Linked DNA regions of Homo sapiens: region 1 is linked to region 2. The links are contacts of gene promoters, found by promoter capture Hi-C in blood cells and fetal thymus (Javierre and others, 2016). All regions are on one chromosome and are shown on one strand. Each heading gives the region's core, a stretch centred on a gene start or on the middle of the fragment in contact. The rest is flanking DNA. Distances are from core to core; before and after follow the strand shown. Region 1 has its middle 39 kb from the start of NFAM1. Region 2 holds the start of MEI1 (meiotic double-stranded break formation protein 1).

What was found. Contacts are between HindIII fragments. The CHiCAGO score rates a contact against its expected background, and 5 or more counts as called.
Region 1: a fragment that was not itself captured here is called in contact with the fragment with the promoter of MEI1 in region 2 in 1 of 17 cell types (total B cells); the score reaches 5.1 in total B cells.

The regions. Positions count from the first base shown.
Region 1 is chr22:42,468,070-42,475,671 of GRCh38, forward strand. No RefSeq gene overlaps it. Among named protein-coding and RNA genes, the nearest start is that of NFAM1, 39 kb to the left of the region's middle. The HindIII fragment of the contact is 2,851 bases long and covers 4,230-7,080 here.
Region 2 is chr22:41,694,021-41,701,800 of GRCh38, forward strand. It overlaps MEI1 (meiotic double-stranded break formation protein 1), which reads left to right and starts at 5,483. Exons shown (of 31, transcript NM_152513.4): 1 at 5,483-5,692. The coding sequence starts at 5,519. It also overlaps the pseudogene C22orf46P. RefSeq lists enhancers at 2,773-2,852, 2,863-3,242 and a silencer at 5,456-5,555. The HindIII fragment of the contact is 5,602 bases long and covers 4,677-7,780 here.

The DNA.
Region 1 (7,602 bases), core at 4,405-6,904, 770 kb after region 2:
ATCACGCCATTGCACTCCAGCTTGGGCAACAAAAGCGAAACTCCATCTCAAAAAAAAAAAAAGAAGAAAGAAAAGAAAAGATAGTCTACAGTAGCCTTATGTGCAATAGAGAAAATTTGGAAATAAGCTATGTGTCCTTCAGTAACAGAGGAGATAAATAGATCGTATTTTATTCACATAACAGATTAATGTAAAGCAGTAAAAATAAACTGCAACTACACATATCTACATGAATAAACCTCAAAAACATAAATTGGAGAGGAATACTTCAAAACAACTTTAAAGTTGCAAAAATATAGAACAATACTATGTATTGTTCAGGGGCATAGACATTTGATAAAGTGTGCTATTAAGAATTAGGATTATCATATACAATAATAGGAACAATTCATCAGCAATATATAAGAACTTTCATGTACCCCAAAATACGTCAAGAATTGTCAGAATTACAAGGAGAAATGGACAAATTCCCTGTGCTAGTTTGGATTTCAAGAAATAAACACCAAGATGGCATTAGATACACAAGAGATCTGGCGAAGGATGAAGGGGAGAGAGTGCAGAAGCAGGCTAGGGGCTGGGCATGGTGGTTCATGCCTGTAATCCCAGCACTTTGGGAGGCCAAGGCAGGAGGATTGCTTGAGGTCAGGGGGTTGAGACCAGCCTGGGCAACATAGGGAGACCCCCATCTCTACGAAAAATAAAATAATTAGGCACTAAGGCACATGCCTGTGGTCCCAGCCACTTCGGAGGCTGAGGCAGGAGGATTGCATTGGGCCCTGGAAGTTGAGGCTGCAGTGAGCAGTGATCATGCCATTGCCCTCCAGGCTGGGAGACAGAGTGAGACTGAAGCAAAGAAGTAGCAGGAGAGCCTTCAGGCCACAGAGGCAGGTCTGACGTATAAAGGAGGGAGGGAAGAAGGAAGCCTCAGGCTGCAGCAGGACTCTGAGCAAGCTTGGCCAGGCAGATGATGAGTCTCCAAGCAATGACTGTTAGAGGAGTCTTGCACCAGGCAGATGTGGTGGGGCTCCAGCACCCCCTTGGTGATTAGTCATTGCCTGGGAGCAACTGGGGTCAGGTCCCTTTGAAGGGGAATCTGAGCGGTGTAAGTCCATGGCCACCACATGTAATATTACAGTAGAAAGTCATAATCTGCATCCTATCCATCTCTCAGGAATTGACAGACCAAGCAGGCAAAAATGGAGATATTCTCCTAAAGATGAATGGGCAATAAGAGACTCCTATACCCAAGAATTAGAGACTATATCTTTCCAAGCACACATAGTACTTTTACAAAAATTGTACATGTTGTCTTTGAAGAAATAATTTTAAGACTGAAATGAAAAAAAAAGTTTTTTTAGACTGCATGTGTAGCAGGTCGCAGTGTCATGCTCAACACGTACAATAAATTGGTATTTGGCTACAATGCAATCAGGTTAGAAAGACATTATAAAATGATTTTCTAAACCCGTATGTTTTAAAATTTAAATTCATGGATTGCCTAACATAAAAGTTAAAGAAGATATCATAAGGGAAATCAGAAAATATTTAGAACTGAAAGATAATTAAGTCACTGTGTGATAAATCTCGAAGAATATCACTAAAGGAGTATGCAGAGGGAAATTTACAGCCTTAACTGCGCACATTAGAAAAGAAGAAGATTCAGCCAGGCCTGGTGGCTTATGCCTGTGATCCCAACACTTTAGGAGGCCAAGATAGGTAGACTGCTTGAGCTTGGGAGTTCAAGGCCAGACTGAGCAACATGGTGAAACCCCATCTTTACAAAAATTAGCCGGGCGTGGTGGTGGACACCTGTAGTCCCAGCGACTTGGGAGGCTGAGACAGGAAGATCATTTGAGCCCAGGAGGTTGAGGCTGCAGTGCGCTGTGTTTGTGCCACTGCACTCTAGCCTGGGCGGCATGACAGAGTGAGACCCTGTCTCAAAAAAAAAAAAAAAAAAAAAGGCTGGGCGCAGTGGCTCACACCTGTAATCCCAGCAATTGGGGAGGCCAAAGTGGGTGGATCACTTGAGGTCAGGAGTTCAAGACCAGCCTGGCCAACCTGGTGAAACCCCGTCTCTACTAAAAATACAAAAATTAGCCAGGTGTGGTGGCACTTGCCTGTAATCCCAGCTACTCGGGAGGCTGAGGCAGGAGAATGGCTTGAACCTGGGAGGCGGAGGTTGCAGTGAGCTGAGATCACGCCACTGCACTCCAGCCTGGGTGACAGAATGAAACTGTATCTCAAAAAAAAAAAAAAAAGAATAAGAAGATTCCCAATTCATGAGCTAAGTGTCCAACTCTAAAAGTAAGAAAAAGAGTAGAATAAAACAACAAAAACAAAAGTAGAAGGAATGAAACAAGAAAATCATAAAGATAAAAACAGAAATTAATCAAAGAAAAAAATGAATAGAGGATACACAAAACTGCAGCTGGATCTTTAAGACTCATGAAAAAGGCAGACCTCTGGCAACAGCAGCAGAGCAAATGCAAGAGAAAGCACAGGCTTGTTAGGAATTAACCCAAGGAACTGAACACAGCTAAAGTAGAGAGCCAGAAATAACGATAGCTCACATTTATGAGTCAGTTTCATGCCTCATTCTATAATGCAATATGTATTTACAGTTTAGGTTAAAATACAAATCCTTTCTACAGAATCCTCTGCTTATGTATATTAATAGTCATGGGCTAGCATTTACCCAGAACTTACTAGGAGCCATTCCCTGCTCTCGTTAGGAACTCTCTTGCCTCTATACCTTTGATTAGGCTGTTTTCTCAGCTCCAAATGCCCTTCCTCTCCTTTGCAACCTGTGAGGTTTGGCTAAAATGTAACCTCCTTTGGCTGTTACTGCCAAGAGCACAGCCAGTATCCATTCTGCCCCACTTCCTTAAGAATAGAACCACGATTTTGTTCTAATATGGTCCTTTTAAAATGACTACAACTATCGTATTATATTCCCAGCTCCCTCTGTATCTCAGGGTGGCCAAGTGACACAGTTTTGGACAATGAGATACAGGCTGAAGTTTGCTAGGTTTATTAATTATCGATGCATATCAAAGTATCCCAAAACTTAGTGGTTTAAAGCAATGGATGCTTTTATTATCTCACGATTTTTGTGGGTCAAGAATTTGGGAGTGGCTTATCTGGGTGGTTCTGGTTCAAGATCTTAATGAGGTTGCAGTCAAGGTGTCCACTGGGGCTGCAGTCATCCGAAGGCTTGACTAGATCTGGAGGATCTTCTTCCAAGGAGGTTTACTCATGTGGCTGTTGGCAAGAAGTCTCCTGTTGTCTGGATGCAAGTCATGGTACATGTAAGACGCTTTAAGAGTTTTTATTGTTGGCATCAAGGAAAAAAGTATGACCTCTTCCTTTGCCTATCTCCAATCCCTTTTATCCCCATTTTATTTTTGATCTATCCACCCATGTACTCATCCACTACCCATCTACCCACCCATCCATCCACCCACCCATCCATCCATCCACTCACCCATCCAGCCAACAACTCACTCATCCACCCATCCACTCATCCACCAACCTTTCACCCACCTACCCACCTATCCACTTACCCACCCACCCATCCTTTCACCCATCCACCCATCCATCCACCCACACACATATCCATCCATCCATCCATCCATCCATCCACCATCCACCCACCCATCCACACACTCATCCACCTATCCATCTATCCAATAGTTTCTGGGAGCGTATAAAGTGCCAGGCACAATATTTAGGCACTTGACATAAAAAGTGAGTAAGATTTGTGCCCTTCCTTTAAGTAATTCCTCTCTATTTAGGATGACAGATATGGAACAATTCTAGTACATTTGTGATAAGTGCTATGCTACAAGTAAAAGAGGGATACTATCTTTTTTTTTTTTTTCGAGACAGGGTTTCACTCTGTAACCCAGGCGGGAGTGCAGTGGTGCAATCTTGGCTCACTGCAACCTCCATCTCCTGGGTTCAAGCGATTCTCGTGCCTCAGCCTCCCGAGTAGCTGGGATTACAGGTGTGTGCCACCATGCCAGGCTCTTTTTTTTTTTTTTCTTTTTGGTATTTTTAGTAGAGACAGGGTTTCACTATGTTGGCCAGACTGGCCTCGAACTCCTGACCTCAAATGACCTGCCCACCTCAGCCTCCCAAAGTGCTGGGATTACAGGCATGAGCCACCGCACCTGGCCAGATACTATCTTAGATGTATTAATATTTTTTCCTTCTCTTATTCAGTCAGAAGCTTCTGTTGGCCTCAAGGATAATTATGATTTTCATAGTAGGTAGGTGATGAGAAAGAAAGACGCTTTCACTTTTAAGTATTAAGACTGACTCCAAGTGCATGTGATTCGGTAGTCTTGAAACTGAGCTTTCAGAGAAAAAAGAGATTTTCTAAATTCCAAAGGCTCTGCTTTAAGACGTAAATAACAGAATCCTGGACTTGGATTATAAGCAGTGCACAGGGTCTGAAGGTGTGACTTAGGGAAGTTCCCATCAGTAGGAAGACACAGGAGATCAGATGTCAGCGTCCTGATTCCCTCCTCGGGGTTAACACAGTGGTAGCAAGGCCTGCGGTGAGCATGGCAGCAGAACGACAGGGGCTGCTCAGGCATGCTTTGGAAATGGCCAGGAAAGGGTCTAGGACAGTGGCCTGGAAGGCAGCCTCACAGATCTAGTGTGAGGCTACACCCAGCCTACACTCTCTAGTGTGGAGTGGGAAAAGCAGCCCAGGCCCTGATGAATCAAAAGACTGAGATTGGGGTACAGAGGCCAGGCTGGGAGCCCTGGGCTGGAGGTTGAGAATAATGCATGATGGTATCGCCTCGTGGACACCAGGACGGAAGGTCCAGGAACCGCCCTGGCCATGGCTGAGAGGCAGGAGCCAGGAGGGTGCCCTAGTTACCCCGCACCCTAGCAGCATCTCAGAAAGGAGCAGGGAGAGACACTTGATCGGAACTTGAACCTGAACTTGAACTTTAATCTTGACGCGTTAATGAGGAAGGGAGTTTTGGAAGACTGAAGAGGCTGAGTTAGCTCTGATGAGCATGTTCCTGGTGTTATTTCCTTTCTCTCTTTTGCCGTGAGCAAGAGTGGGGACTTGCGAGCTCAAGGGAATCAGTTATAGACCATTTTTAGTTCTATTTCTGTGCACATCTGCCTGCATACAGCATAAAGATTTTTACCCTGGTTGAGGCGTGCACGGGATGCTGGGATTACAGGCGTGAGCCACCGTACCCACCTGACCCTAAATTATTTTTGGTTCCTCCAATCCAACTTTCTTCCATAGAATACTAAGAATGGGAATTGCTCTGTTCCTAAGGCACTATAAGCTGAAACTAAATGAATTTTAAGGGATGAGTCTTGTGTGTGATCTATGGACCATATAGAAAGTTCACTGGACTGCCTCATGCCATGAGCAGAGACAGTCTAACTGTAAACCAGGACAAGCAGTTGATGGCTTCATGCTGTGGGTGGCTTTTCCCAAGACAACAGAACAAGAGTCCCCATCATGAGCCTCTTGTCCCTCTTAATTCTTCCCTGCTTATGCCAATTTTTTCCACTTGGCAGGATAATGATGCAACTGAAACTTCCCAATCAGTAGCTTCTGCTGGTAACTTGACAGAACCTGACCTAAGAGATCCTTTAGGCCACCTAGTGGGTAACTTTGGCAACATCCCTAATAGAACTGTTGTTCACTCGGCTTTAATGCATCCCAGTTGTGGGATACTAGATGATGAATTTGCTCTATATTATTTATTGGTTGGATAAGGAAATGTCTGTGCTATTGCTAATACTACATGCCACACCTGGATAAATTTCTTTGGGGAAGTTGAGACCCAAATACACAAAATAAGAAAACAAGTCACTTGGTTACAACAGGTCTCATCTAATTCTCCATGGTCATTCGATTTATTCAATGTATTCCCTTTAAGTCTAGGTTCATAGCTCAAAACCATTATGCAAACTAGGGTTACCATTTTTATTTATTTATTTATTATTTATTTATTTATTTATTTATTTATTTATTTATTTATTTTTGAGACAGAGTTGCGTGCTGTCACCCAGACTGGAGTGTAGTGACACGATCTCAGCTCACTGCAACCTCCGCCTCCTGGGTGTGAATCCTCCTGCCTCAGCCTCCCGAGAAGCTGGGACTACAGGCATGCACCACCACGTCCAGCTAATTTTTTTTTTTTTTTTGAGCCGGAGTCTTGCTCTATCACCCAGGCTGGAGTGCAGTGGCTATATCTCGGCTCACTGCAAGCTCTGCCTCCTGGGTTCACGCCATTCTCCTGCCTCAGCCTCCCGAGTAGCTGGGACTACAGGTGCCTGCCACCATGCCCAGCTAATTTTTTGTATTTTTTTTTTTTTTAGTGGAGATGGGGTTTCACCGTGTTAGCCAGGATGGTCTTGATCTCCTAACCTCGTGATCTGCCCTCCTCAGCCTCCCAAAGTGCTGGGATTACAGGCGTGAGCCACCGCGCCCAGCCACGTCCAGCTAATTTTTTGTAGAGACAGGATTTCACCATGTTGCCCAGGCTGGTCTCAAACTCCTGGGCTCAAGAGATCCACCCACTTCAGACTCCCAAAGTGCTGGGATTACAGGTGTGAGCCACTGCACCTGGCTATCCCTTCTCTTAGAAGGATGAATCAGTCTATTCAGTAAATTTAAAAGGTGACTGGGGCTGGGCGTGGTGGTTCACATCTGTAATTCCAGCACTGTGGGAGGCCGAGGCAGGTGGATCACCTGAGGTCAGGAGTTCGAGACCAGTATGACCAACACGGTGAAACCCCATCTCTACTAATAATACAAAAATTAGCCAGGTGTGGTGGTGCACAACTGTAATCCCAGCTACTCTGGAGGCTGACGCAGGAGAATCACTTGAACCCAGGAAGTGGAGGTTGCAGTGAGCCGAGATCGCACCAGTCACTCCAATAGAGTGAGACTCTGTCTCAAAAAAAAAAAGAAAAAGTGACCTTATGAATGGGTAACAATTGCCTGTGTCTTACAGCCAGATCTCAAACAACTTCGTGAACAAATCTACAAGAATCACACATTGTTAAAACACAGCCATCTCACACACAGAATCAAGCTTGTGTTTGACAATGGCATGGAAATCACACTAATTATGATGACCTAGGCTGGGAGAGAAAACCAGTGCACCTGCACTATCTGATCCCAGCCTCCCTCTGAGCCTCACCTGGGGTCACTCTTCCCCTTAGTGTGCTGTAGCCACTCTAGATCCCACCTGCTCCTAAACACACCCATCTCTTCTCTGCCCCGGGGCCTTTGCACGTGGCACTCCCTCTGCCTGAGAAGCTGCCACTTGATGTTGTCAGCTCCTTCTTATGCTTCAGATCTTCCTTTCAATGCCAGCTACTCACAGAAGCCCTCCCTGACCACCCTGTTCAAAGTAGCATCCTCACTGTGGTAGCAGGATGATGCCTCCCCCAAGATGTCCATGTCCTAATCCCTGGTACCTGTGAATATGTTATGTTACGTGGCAAGAGGGAATGAAGGTTGAAGATGAAATGAAGTTTGCTAATTAGCTGACTTTGTTTTATTATATTTTAGTTTTTTTGTGAAGGAGTCTCACTCTGTCGCCCAGACTG
Region 2 (7,780 bases), core at 4,233-6,732:
GCACTGTCGACCAGAGGCCTGGGAACCAGGGGGTAAAAACCAGAAAGCAGGCAGAGAGGATAGTAGAGAGACCCAGGCTCCAAGGTGGGTGAACCAGACAGGGAGCAGACGGGAGGATGCTTCAGAAATCCAGGCATCTGGGGAGTAGTTCCCAGTAGACTTTGGAATGGAGGGTGATGCAGAGACTAACGTGTTGGAGTGTGCAAACCAGAGACTAGTAATAAGTGAAACTGATGGCGAGATCTTGACACCAGGGTGGGACACCCAGGACCGGATGGGAGTTGAGAGTAGAACCAACATTCAGGAACTAGGGAATAGAAACCAGAGGGAGGCTGGAGGTGAGAATCTCCCTGAAACCCAGGCACATATGGGAGAGAACCAAGAACAGTTAAGATGTAAAATTGATGCAGAGACCCAAACACCTGAGTGGGAGAACCAGGATAAGAATGGAAGTGAGGATGCTGTGGAGACCCAGACATTTGAGAAGAAGGACAAGAAAGAGGCTGGAGAGGAGGATGGGGAAGAGATCCAGGCTCAAGGATTGGGGAAGCAAGGCCAGACTGGAGATGAGAATGGTGAGGAGACCCAGACACCACAGTGGGAGAAACAAGATCAGATGAAAGGTGATGCGGATGTGGAAATTCAGATGGAAGAGGGGAGAAACAAGGATCAGGTTGGAGGTCAGGATGCTGCACAAACCCAATCATGTGGGAGGGAGAACGTGGGAGAAGTAAAAAAAGAGAATAGTGTAGAGACCCAGGCCTTGGATTGGGGAAAACAGGAATGTGTTGGAAATGGGAATGTTACAGAGATCCAGACACCAAGGTGGGAGAAGCATGATCAAGGTGGAAGTAAGAAAGCTAAGAAGACCCAAGCATCTGGGGGAGAGAACCAGAAACAATTAAGTCATGAAATTCAAGTGGGGTGGGGAAATAAGGGCCTGAGAAGAGATGAAGATGCTAAGGAAACCCAGATAGCTACCAAGAAGAAGCTCAGGGAGATAAGAGAAGGATTGGGTGGTGATCCAGGCACTATGGTGGGGAAACCGGAGACAAGTAGCAAGTGAAATTTATAGAGAATTTGAGATACTATGTTGGGAGAATCAGAACTGGATTGGAGGTGAACATAGAGCAGAAATTCAGGCATCAGAGAAGAGAGACCAAAGAAAGGATGGATGTGAGGATGGCACAAATATCCTGGCACCCGAGGCTGAGATCCAGGAACAATTAAAAGGTGAAACTGATGTGGAGACTCAGAGCAATGAGCCACTTAGAGAAGAGGATGGTACAGACATTCAGTCACTAGGGAGGAGAGAGGTTAAAGGTGAGGATGATAAAGACACCCAGGAACTTGGGAGGAAAAATCAGGGTCAGTTAGGAAATGAATTTAGTGGAAAGATTCACATACCAAAGGGGAAGAATCAGGAACATATTAGAGGCGAAGATGGTGCACATACCCAGATATCTGAGTCAGGGAACTGGGGCAAATTAACAAGTCAAATTGATGGAGAAATGCATTCAGCAGAATGGAAGAAAGATCAGCAGATTGGAGGTGAGAATGGGGCAGAAATTCAGATACAAGGGAAGAGAAACCTGAGAGAAGTTGGAGGTGAGGACGGTGTAAAGACCTGGGCACCTGGGAAAGAAACCCAGAGTCAGTTTAGAAGTGATCTTGGTAGAAAGATCCTTTTATCAGAGTGGAAGAGCCAGAAGCAGATGGGAAGTGAGAATGGAACAGAAATTCAGGCTCCAGTGGAGAGAAACCAGAGAGAACCTGGAGGTGAGGACGGTGTAAAGACTCAGAGACCTAAGAGAGAGAACGAGGACCAGTTAGATAGTGAAATTGGAGGGAGCCATTCACCAGGGAGGAGGAACTGGGAGCTGATTGGAAAGGATGTTGCAGAAAATCAGGCATCAGAGAAGAGAAACCAGAGAGAGGTTGGAAACGAGGACGGTAGAATGATCTGGAGGCTTAGGGGAAAAAACTGGAGGCTTAGAGCGAAGAAACAGACTGTTAAAAAGTAAAGATAATGGAAAGACCCGTTTATCAGAGTGGAAGAACCAGGAACAGGGTGGAGGTGGGAATGATGAAGAAATTCAAATACAGGGGAAGAGAAACCTGAGAGGGACCACAGCTGATGATGGTACAGAGACCCAGGCTCCTGCAGGAGATGACCAGGGACAGTTAAGAGTTGAAATTGCTGAAGAGATCCAGGTACAAGGGCAAGGAAATAAGAATGACGGTGGAGTTGAGGATGTTGCAGAACTCCAGGATATAGGAAGCCAGAGAAAGTGCACAGATGAGGATGTTGGAGAGCCTCGAGCACCAAGGGGAGGAAACAAGGATCTGGTCAGAGGAGAGGATGCTGTGAGGGACAGTCTCCAAGTCGACTGTTCTGGGAGTGAGAGGCCCACAGGCAGGAAGCACAGCCTACCATGGCCTCCAGCCTTCACTGGCTATGGATGTGGGACCCGGGAACAGGAACAGGCAGTGGCTGTGAATGGTTTCATCTCTGCCCCCTGTCCTGAGATGAATCCTGTCCCCCACTGGGGTGAAGTCTTCCTGCTGGTGGGTGGGGAGGGAGAGCATCTGGCCAGCCAGGGCACAACCCCTGCCAGGGATCATAGAGTGGGGATCAGTCCAGCCTCCCAGCAGGCCCAACCTGAATCCTGGAGAAGACGACAAAGGGACAAAGGGGTGGATCCAGAGAAGGCCCCCAGCCTGACTCGGCAGTCCCAAAACCCTCCGTCTCTGACAGCTCCCTTGGGCATGCCCTCTGCCTGCTCCTGTCTCCCGTGTGGCCCAGCCCCGGAAGCTGCCATCATTCTAGCGGGTCCTCCCACCGCCCTCACTGTCCTGCCCAAGGGGACAGGCCTCAAGAAGAGCAAACGACTGCTCCTGGAGTCCCTCATGCGGAGGAGGATTGCACACCTGAAGTGGGGTCTTCCCCGGCGGATCCTGGAGTCCTATTTCCTGTTTAACTTCTTAGGATCTTGCTCATTGACCCTTGCTGGGGCGAGGCTCTCTGGACTGAACACAGGCCAGGAGCTCCAAGCCCAGCAGGAAAGGTATTGTGAGGCCCAAGGCTCCCCACCAGGCCTTAAGTCCCCAGAGAGGTTCCAGAGGGTTCAGCGCCCAGACAGAAAAAGCTCGAAACTTCCTATACAAGCCAGAGCTCTGGAGAGGAACAGACCGCACATGTCAGAGCCCATTAAGCATTTCCATCCAGCCTGAAAAGGCCAGGAGAGTCAGGCCACCAGGGGGCGCCAGAGAACCACAGGAGATCCAGGAAGCGCTTGCTAGGACCAAGCTCCCAGCTCCCAGGACCCCCAGGCCGGCAGCGGAGTCCAGGAGCTGGTGTGGCCCACAAAGGGTCGGAGAGCCTCCCAGTGAGAACAGTAGGGGCAGGAAAATGATCAGGTCAAGGGTCTCCCAGCTGGCAGAGAGGGCTCCCAGCAGAGTGAGGACTTCATTCTCTAGGGCAGACCACGCCCACTGGAGGAAGGAATGTACATCCTGGGAGGCCTCTAAGCTCCCCAGACTCAAATGCCAGCAGCTCACATACTGGAGAAGAGGAAGCCTGGAATCTACAGGGTGCAGAGGGGCTGGGCAGCAGCCTTCCTGCCATTCTGCAGAACCTGTCAGCTTCAAAGGGAGGCTCCACTCTGCGGTGGCAAAGCTGGGCCTGACCCTTCTGGCCAAGATGTCCTGGTCCCCACAGCTCGCCAAGCGCAAGCACTTGGCCCCTAACCTGAGCCTGAGGGAACCTGATTCTACTCTGCCTCCCAAAGTGGGTGATCCTCGTGCAGGGGAGGACAGCATCGGAGATCACACTGCTTCACAGAGGGATCTTCAGCTGCAAGGTCACTGCTGTACTGGGGCCACCCTTCCTAAGACAGAGAGTCCCCAGGGCCAGGAGGCACCTGGGAACCCAAATGGGGCTCCACAGAATACACGAGCCTCCAAAAAGTTTAGTATTATGAAGCATCTGAATTTTTTTCTCTTCCAGAATGGCTTTAAAAAGTAGACTCAGGCCCAGAGTCCTCAGGACATATCAGAAAAGCTTTGAGAGTGTCCTGATCCCTGCAAAGCCTCTAATAAATTGGTCATTTGGGCCCTGTGGTGTTCTGATTTCTCTGGCACATTTTCCAAGTGCCCCCTTTCGGGGTTTGGGATACTTTGTGGGTGGGGTAGAAGCCCCTTCCACTCTGTGGTTGTGGTTTAGGGAATGTGGGTCAACCCAGTGTCCTCTCCGAAACACCTGCCCCCCAGCTCCTCACAGTGGAGTCCACTGAGGTTCTATCCTGCTCTGTCTCCAAGCTAATCCTGATTGAGGCAGGACACTCCAAAAGCCTCAGCTGCTTATGGGGAGGGGTGGTCCTCTGCATGGGACGCTTTTTTTTTTTTTTTTGAGATGGAGTGTAGGTCTGTGGCCCAAGCTGGAGTTCAGTGGCTTGATCTCCGCTCACTGTAACCTCCGCCTCCTGGGTTCAAGCGATTCTGCTGCCTCAGCCTCCCGAGTAGCTGGGATTACAGTCATGAGCCACCACACCCAGCTAATTTTTGTATTTTTAGTAGAGGAGGGGTTTCGCCCTGTTGCTCAGGCTGGTCTTGAACTTCTTTCTCTCTGTCTTTGGTGTTTTGTTTTGTTTTTTTACTTTTATTTTTTGGTCTTAAGCTTCTGATTTATTTATTTATTTTTAAGATGGAGTCTTCCTCTGTCACCCAGGCTGGAGTGCAGTGGTGCGATCTTGGCTCACTGCAACCTCCACCTCCCAGGTTCAAGTGATTCTCCTGCCTCAGCCTCCCTCCCAAAGTGCTGTGATTACAGGCATGAGCCAACTCACCCAGCCTCTAATTGCTTTTAGATGCGAATCCTTGGGATCGCTTATTTTCCTTTTTTTTTTTTTTTTTGAGATAGAGTCTTGCTCTGTCGCCAGGCTGGAGTGCAGTGGCACAATCTCAGCTCACTGCAACCTCCGCCTCCCAGGTTCAAGTGATTCCCCTGCCTCAAGCCTCCCAAGTAGCTGGGATTACAGGCACTTGCCACCACACCCAGCTAATTTTTTGTATTTTAGTAGAGACGGGGTTTCACCATGTTGGGTAAGATGGTCTTGATCTCCAGATCTCGTGATCCGCCCACCTCGGCTTCCCAAAGTGCTGGGATTACAGGCGTGAGCCACCATGCCCGGCCTTCATTTTTAAAAAACAGTAGAAATAGCTTCCTTTCCTTCCTTTTTCAAGGCAAATGCCCCCTACTTTATAATTGCTTTTCAACTTTGGATGTGGTAAAGACATTCCTGCAGGGTTCTAAGCACAAACCGCTTTTGGCTTAGCTAGACACGATCCAGAGCACTTGCGTCCACCACTTGCCCTCAGTGGCTGCTGCTCGTCTGAGACTGCAGCGCCCTGGGTCCGCGCAGGCGCATTCCACACCGACGCAGGTCCGTCCTCCAAGTGCGCATGCGTGCAGTCTGCGCGGGAAAGAGTGCCGCCTCAGCTGAGGGCAAGCGAGGAGATGGCTGTGAGGCAGGCGGCGACGGCGGGCACTCCCGGGCCCAGGAGAGAGGAAGAGGCGGCGCTTCTATTCGAGAGGGCCCATTACCGGCACGACCCGCGCTGGCTGCTGCCCGTGACCCCCCGCCTGTGCCTGGCCTGCGCGCTGGAGCTGCTGCCGGACCCCGGCGTGTCGGTGCGGGCGGAACCTTTTCTTCAGAAGACCTGGGTTTGGCCATTTCCCTCAGCAAACGCGGCCAGGCCCTTGCCAGACCCGCTCCGGTGAACCCGACGCGAAACCGGGCCCCCGCGCTGTGTTCACTCTCCTCCCTGTCAGCCCGTCCCGGACCCGGCCGCAGCGGCCTCTCGGGCCCCTCAGCCCCAGGCCGGCCTGCGGGCCTCCGTGGAGCCCGGTCCACTGGCTCTGCGCCTGAAAGGACGGAAATCCGGATCCCCCGGGACCTCACCCAGTCTCAGGGACACACCTTCCCGCCTTCCGCCTTCTGGCTCCTTCCCTTTGCTGCCCCTGCCTCCATTTCCCGGGGATTCGGCCTTAGCTCAGGCTCCCGCCATTTCAGCCTCCCGCCATTTCAGCCTCCACTCACCTGCGGGCCAGGGGCGCATGCGGCGGCCGCTCCTCATTCCCTTCAGCTGTCGGGGTGTGAATCGGAGGAGGGGCAGTCTGGGCTCCGAGGGGACAGGAGTGACAGGTTACAGCCGGGCAGAAGTGGGGGTGAACGGGAAGACTGTTCCTTGGGCAGAGCTGGCCAAAGCGGGCTGCCTGGGTCCTCATTGCCTACCGCGTTTGCAATGAAGTGGTTTTGTTTGTTTCGAGACGGAGTCTCGCTCTGACACCCAGGCCGGAGTGCAATGGCGCCATCTCCGCTCACTGCAACCTCTGTTTCCTGGGTTCAAGCGATTCTCCTGCCTCAACCTACCCAGTAGCTGGGATTACAGGCTCCCGCCACCACGCTCGGCTAATTTCTCTATTTTTAGTAGAGACGGAGTTTCATCATGTTGGCCAGGCTGGTCTCGAACTCTTGACCTCAGGTGATCCACCCGCCTCGGCTTCCCATAGTGCTGGGATTATAGGCGTGAGCCACGGTGCCCGACCTGCAGTGAGTTTTCTTGTCCATGGAGGCATCCAAGAAGACTTTGGGAGGTCAAGTTTCTCTCCAATTCATGGGAGGGGAATTCGTGAGTGGGTGGATTGGCTAGATCAGCAGTTCTCAATTTTTTTTTTTTTTTTTTTTTTTTTTGTAGAAACGGTCCCGGGGGTCTCCCTGTGTTGCCCAGGCTGGTCTTGAACTCCTAGTCTCAAGCAATTCTCCTGCCTTGACCTCCCAAAGTCCAAAGTGTTGGGATTGCATCTGTGAGCCACCGTGCCTGGCTGCGTTCTCAAATATTTTGATTTCTTTCTTTCTTTTTTTTTTTTTTTTTGAGATGGAGTTTCACTCTTGTTGCCCAGGCTGGAGTGCAATGGCGCAATCTCAGCTCACCGCAACCTCCGCCTCCCGGGTTCAAGCGATTCTCCTGCCTCAGCCTTCCGAGTAGCTGGGATTACATGCATGCGTCACTACGCCCAGCTAATTTTGTATTTTTAGTATAGACGGGGTTTCTCCATGTTGGTCAGGTTGGTGTTGAACTCCCAACCTCAGGTGATCTGCCTGCCTCAGCCTCCCAAAGTGTTGGGATTAAAGACGTGAGCCACCACACCCGGCCAAACAGCTGGATTTTTATCTATTTCTGCATTCAGTCTGTTGTGCTATCATGTCATATAGTCTCAAAAACTCCACTGTACACTTGTGGGAGAATAAGAATGAGAAAGACTGGGCCGGGTCCGGTGGCTCACACCTGTAATCCCAGCACTTTGGGAGGCCGAGGTGGTTGGATCACGAGGCCAGAAGTTCAAGACCAGCCTGGCCAACATGGAAAAAATTTAAAAAAAAATGAGGAAGACTAAGAACATTTTAATATTATATGAAAATATTTTTGTTCTTGTGGACCTCTGGGAAGTGTTTTAGGCACCCTTAGGAATTCCCACACTGTGCTCTGGGAACTCGTAAACTAGCTAATAACCTCTGAATTTTCATTAAGGATGGAAATTCTGAGGCTGCTTTTCTTGGACAGTAAATCAGAGATGAATAAGACAGTGCAGCGGGGAGAAATAAGAGAACATGTTAGAACTTAGAAGAATGAACATGTTTGTAGTCAAGTGCTGTTCAGGGTAAGGAGAGGAATTAGGAAAGGTTTCTTAGAGGAGGAAGCATTCAAATTAGGTTTA